Linked DNA regions of Homo sapiens: region 1 is linked to region 2. Evidence: promoter capture Hi-C in human tissues and cell types (Jung and others, 2019). All regions are on one chromosome and are shown on one strand. The core of a region is centred on a gene start or on the middle of the fragment in contact, and the rest is flanking DNA. Distances in the headings are between cores, read along the strand shown.

Region 1 (2,940 bases), core at 2-2,501, 400 kb before region 2:
CAACCACTGTCTCTGTATGACTCATTCATGTTACAACATCACAAGGAGCAATGTCAATTATTGGGCATGAACATTTTAAGAGATAGCAGGGTGTTTATGAGTTAAGGGCATGAACTGAGTGGTCCAGGTTTAAATCTCAGCTCTGCCACTTTCTTGCTTGTGACCTGGGCAAGCTGCCTCACCTGCTTAAACCTCATGTGTAATGGGGGATTATAATCTTCACCTTGCATGGCTGTTGCGAGGATTAAATGCACATGAATGCACTCAGTGACAGCCTCACTTACCAAGTGCGCAGTAAATGTCTGTTGTTGCTAGTAAAGCAGACATTTGAAAATTAAGAGCGTACCCTGGCCAGGTATGGTGACTCACACCCATAATCCTAGCACTTTGGGAGGCCAAGGTGAGCAAATTACTTGAGCCTAAGAGTTCAGAGACCAGCCTGGGCAACGTGGCAAAACCCTGTCTCTACAAAAAAAAAAAAAAAAAAAAACAGAAAAGAAAAAAAAAAGCCAGGCATGGTCGCACACTCCCGTAGTCCCAGCAACTTTGGAGGCTGAGGCTGAGATAGGAATATCACCTGAGCCTGGGGAGGTCAAGGCTGCACTGAGCCATGATCATGCCACTGCACTCCAGCCTGGGTGACAACATGAGATTCTGTCTCAAAAAAAAAAAAAAAAAAAAAAAAAGGCATACCTTAACCTCAAGATCTTGCAGGTACTACTCACAAGCCAAGATATACGTGAAGTACACCAGGAAAAAAAAAATTCAACATTGCTATAACAGTAAGATTTTTCATTTTACATACATTGTTATATTTACAACCATGAATGTAAGTATTGCTATTCCTGTTTTACAGATGAGGAAACTGAGACTCAGAAGGGTTAAGTGACTTGCTTATCGTGGCAGCTACTAAATGGTAAAATTTAGATTTTACTCCATCTATGACTGGCTTTAAAAGTTGGGTGTTCATGGCCGGGCACGGTGGCTCATGCCTGTAATCCCAGTACTTTGGGAGGCCAAGGTGGGTGGATCATGAGGTCAGGAATTCGAGACCAGCCTGGCCAACATGGTGAAACCCTGTCTCTACTAAAAATACAAAAATTAGCCAGGCGCAGTGGCAGGAGCCTGTAATCCCAGCTACTCAGGAGGCTGAGACAGGTGAATCGTTTGAACCTGGGAGGCAGAGTTTGCAGCGGGCCAAGACTGCGCCACTGGACTCTACCCTGGGTGACAGAGTGAGACTCCATCTCAAAAAAACAAAACTAAACTAAACCAAAAAAACCAAGTTGGGTGTTCATTATACTATATCAACCTGTCTCTCCCTCATTTAAAAGCTAGGAAACAATTTGTCCAGCTAAGTAGTAAGAAAAGATACCCAGAGTTGCCATAGTTCTAAAAGTCCCAGCCCTCAGGCGTAAGAACTGACTCTGGTCCAGCAGTAAAACCTGCCATCTGTGGGAGCCTGTTTCTCAGTGGAAGGAGAAGATCCATCCTGGGTTATGGCACATCTTTAACCACGTGTTGCTACTGGTCTTCCTTTTTGTTACATAGAAAAGTTAAAGAGATCCCTTGTATGGTTGTGGGTGGAGTGGTACACACACCACTGTTTCTCTGGGACATTTATTTATTAATGTATTCATTTTTATTATTATTATTTTTTTGAGACGGAGTCTCACTCTGTTGCTTAGGCTGGAGGGCAGTGGCGCAATCTTGGCTCACTGCGATCTCTGTCTCCCGGGTTCAAGCGATTCTCCTGCTTAGCCTCCTGAGTAGCTGGGATTACAGGTGCATGCCACCATGCCTGGCTAAGTTTTGTATTTTTAGTAAAGACGGGGTTCCATCATGTTGGCCAGGCTGGTCTCAAACTCCTGACCTCAAGTGATCTTCCCACCTCGGCCTCCCAAAGTGCTGGGATTACAGGCATGAGCCACCACACCCAGCCTGGGACAGACTTTTATATTGTACAATTGCCCTCCATCCAGGGCCTGCGGAAGACATGTCTTTGGCAGTGAACGTGGGCTCTCATGCAAGCTATCTGAGCTCCCGGTGAGTGTACAATTGGAGGGCTTTTCTCACCTCCTGGAAGCTAGTCCCCTGGCTCCAGCAGCCTACCTGTAGAAGGCATGACAGAGACAGCAATGCCCCCACATTTGGCCCAGGTTGTTCAAAGCCCATAGTTGGAATACTCAGGAAGCTCTAGCTATCCCTGCAGCCCTACAGCTGAAACGAGAATCTGCCTACAGTGGAGAAATAAAATGCCCTTCCCAAGCCTCCCTTTAAGAGGTAATAATGCCTCCCGAAGAACATCTGCCAACCCCCACAGACAGAGCTATCTGAAGCAAGCACAGAACCTTGACACTCTTTTCTGTGGAAATTCCAACACATATTTCTTTGCCTTTAAATCTTTGGAATGCTGATTTAAAATCCTGAAGCTAAAATGTTCTGACAAACAGCAGGCTGTCTTGTCTCTCTGAAACAGTGGTATTTCAGGGGTCAGGGAGAGAGCCCTCACCATCAGCCTCATCAGTCAATGGGTTACATAAGCAGGGATTTGTTTCCAGTCTCTAAGGAGGATATCCACAGAATGTCAGGACTTTAGCAAAGTTCACCAACTCTCTACCAAGCATGGTACCTTATACCAGTCCCCAAATAATAGCAACAGACAGTTTAGGATTTACTATCCGATGATCGTGTTATGGCACTTCACAATGTCCTATAAGGAAAATACTACGATCACCCCATTTTACAGCAGAGGTAACTGAGATACAGAGAGGAGGTGTAATTTGCTCAGGGTCATAGAATTTGTAAGTAGCAGAGCTGGGGTTTCAATACAAGTAGTATAGCTTGAGTATATACTCTTATCCATAATGCTACACTGTCTCTCCCAAGATGATAATGATGGGATGGTGGTAATGACAGTGGTGACGGTGGTGATAACAG
Region 2 (3,037 bases), core at 161-2,660:
GCTGGGGTGCATGGTGTTCTTGTTGGCAGAGTAGAAATGAGATATCAAGGAAAAAGAAACTGTAACACAACTGGGAACCCTTAACTCATTGTAAGAACTGCCTCCAAATCAACTTCCTCAAAAACTAAAGAACTCTTCGGGAGAGAGAGACTGGCTGATAAACAATCTAAGGGGAAAACTTTTAAAGATTGTAACACTAAAAATAATTCCGTAAAACTACAATGCAAGTCTACTCAACAAAACTTTAAAAATATAATTTTATTTTTCTTTCAAGAGATCATGGGAAAATCTACTATTTTCGTTTAAAATATATAACTTCTATTTGTTACTATATTTGGATTTGAGCTACTACTATTCTGGATTTGTTCCCATGTATCTGTGGAACCAGGCAGCTAATTAATCTTTACTCAGCATCTCTGGTATTTCTTGAATGAAAATGGAATGGATTGGTGGAATTAATGGCTAGATGTTTAGAAGACACTACTTACTTTGTTATTTTCTCTGTATAATGATGAAAGCCTACAACTATACAGAGACATAAACGAGCCAGGGTGACAGGTTGGGAAAGATGAAGAGGGAGGAGGAAAGGATAGGCTTGTAGCCCTCATCCGGTCAAATTCCCAACTTTGAGCTTCACTTTATTGTAAAATTAGAGGCTAAAACTATTTAACGCTTCCAAAACTTTTTGATTCAACAAATGCCAATTAGTTACTAACATAATTAATCAGTGTATCCTGATTTTTAAAAGATATTTTCCTTTGTGATTTAAAAGAAACATGGGAGTTGGAGTTGCAGCGTCAGTCCTGAAGGACTGACCTCGGGAGGCCAGGTAGGAACTGATAAACTGGCAACAAAATCACATGTTTTCAACTGAATATACTGATATTCAAGCGTCCAGAAAAACAATTTCGAGCCTACGTTCACAAGTTTGCCAGAAAGCCCTATTATTGACACAGCTGCGGATCTCAGACATCTGAGTTAGTCAGCACCATTCTGCTGGAGGGGATTAAGACTGGACGCTTCGAGCGGAGTTGGGAATGTTATCATCTGAGGAAACTAAAAGGCGCCAGCAGTAGGACTTTCTCCAAGGTCTCTGACAAAATATGTTGCGGGAAAAGTCAACCCGCCCCAAATTCCCCCGTGTGGCCCTAACTCGAGGCTCTGGCTCCTCGCGCCGGCAAGCTGAGGAAGAGACGGTCCCCTGCGATTTAGATACAAACGCGCGCGTGCAGGGAAGGCCATCCCAGGGCAGACACTGCCACCTCCGCCGCTTCCGACGCCCGCGCTCGCGGGAGAGCCTAGCGCCGCACGGGAACCTCCCGACCACCGCCGCAGCGCGGATGGGCGTCCCCGGGAGCCAATGGACGCGCCGGGAGGCGGGGCAGGGAGGCCGAGGGGGCGGGATTTCCCGCACGGCCGCTCGGCGCCTGGAGAAGGCTGTGCGGGCGGGGACGGCTGCAGCCCTTGCCGGAGAGGGCGGGCCGGGGTCAGCTGCGGCGGGCGGGCCGGCGCGGGGAGCTGTGGGCGGCAGCTGCGTCTCCTGCCACCGCCCTCCCTCCGCCACGATGCCGGGGATCGACAAGCTGCCCATCGAGGAGACGCTGGAGGACAGCCCGCAGGTGAGGCGCGGGAGCTGGTGGGCGACGAGGGAGAGCCCAGCTGGCCGACCCCAGGTCTGGCGCCTCCGCGGCTCCCGCAGGTGCCCGCCCCGGCCCAGGTGGGGGCCGCCGCCGCCCTAGGTCACCGCCCGTCGCAGGCCGCGCCCGGAGTTGTGGAGGCTGGGCCCGCCGCCCAAGGCCCGCGTGGGCCTGCTCGGCTGGGCCGAGGGCCGCAGGCGGAGACCGAGCCGCTGGTGCTCGTGGGCCGGGCGGTCACGTACGCGCGCGGGTCCTTTTTATTTGACGAAAGGCGCCGTTTTTATCGCGGTGATGTGAGGTGCCAAATCTCGATCCTGGAATTTTCTCCCTGAGAACCTCTTCAGAAAAATTGCAGAAGGGAGAGAAACCCCGATAGTCTTATTTAATGATTTCCGAGGCTCAGCAAGCTAAGGAAGGAAATGGATCGTTTTTCTTTGGGAGAGGCTGTAAGGTTGTGTGTGGAGCCCTAATGGCAAAGCCCGTGACGGGTCCCGGAGCCCAAGACCGCTCTCCCCGCCGAATGTGCCCGTGTCGCGGCCGTGACTGTGGTCGCTGTCACTCGAGCTGTGCACGGCGAGGGATGGACGGTGCCTTCGCCGCTCCGCGACTGCTGCGCTGCTCCCTGCAGACTTGGCCTTAATAAACTCATCAAAATAAAAGCCCTGTGTTCTGTGCGTCGGAATGATGCTGATGTGGTTGCTCTAGCTTAAGACAGTTTTGGAAAATGTAACCATTTAATATGTTTTCAGTACTGCAGAATGAAAGCAGCTATATTTTTTAAAATGTTGGCAGGGGCTGTAACTTGCATAGGGAAAACTTCATCTCTAAGCCGTTTTACACGATAATTTAAACGGTTTAAGACGGTGTTGCTGGTTGGACACTATTTAGAATGAAACATTTCTGAATTGTTGCTGATTTAGAAATGCAGTTGCACCATTTCGTGTGTCTTTACAGTTGAACATGGCCCCCAAAGAAGAAAAGCAGAAGAGGTCTAGATCTCCTTTTCCTGGATGGCACTTCTGCCATGGATTTTGTGCCAATGTTAATTGCCAAGTTGAAATGGGGCTCTGATTGTAGAATTGATTTGTTCTTTTTTATTCTGAAAGTTATCTTCACAGGCCAGTTGCCTGCTGCTAATGTACTCTTAACAGCTGATAGTGACAAAAAGAGAAACTCACATTTGGTTTATCTTGACTGCCAGTATACTCGGTTCAATTTTTTTCTTGATGATTTCTCCATATAAAGTTATAAACTGTATTTGTTTCAGATGATTTGCAAAAAGTTTGTGGAATTGGTCAGGTGTACTTTGTCATTTTACTTTTTATTATGTAAGATTCAACAGGTTGCCTTACCTTTCTTCTCTTACTTGGCTTTTTTTTTTAATAGCCCATAAAGACTAT

What was found. Contacts are between HindIII fragments. The study calls those that stand out against the background at their distance.
Region 1: a contact is called between a fragment that was not itself captured here and the fragment with the promoter of APPL1 in region 2, in 1 of the 25 tissues and cell types used here (aorta).

What each region holds. Positions count from the first base shown.
Region 1 is chr3:56,827,284-56,830,223 of GRCh38, forward strand. It overlaps a transcript of ARHGEF3 not described here. Among named protein-coding and RNA genes, the nearest start is that of ARHGEF3, 27 kb to the left of the region's middle. The HindIII fragment of the contact is 7,225 bases long and covers 1-2,940 here.
Region 2 is chr3:57,226,319-57,229,355 of GRCh38, forward strand. It overlaps APPL1 (adaptor protein, phosphotyrosine interacting with PH domain and leucine zipper 1), which reads left to right and starts at 1,411. Exons shown (of 22, transcript NM_012096.3): 1 at 1,411-1,619. The coding sequence starts at 1,566. It also overlaps a transcript of HESX1 not described here. RefSeq lists a silencer at 1,209-1,868. The HindIII fragment of the contact is 9,927 bases long and covers 1-3,037 here.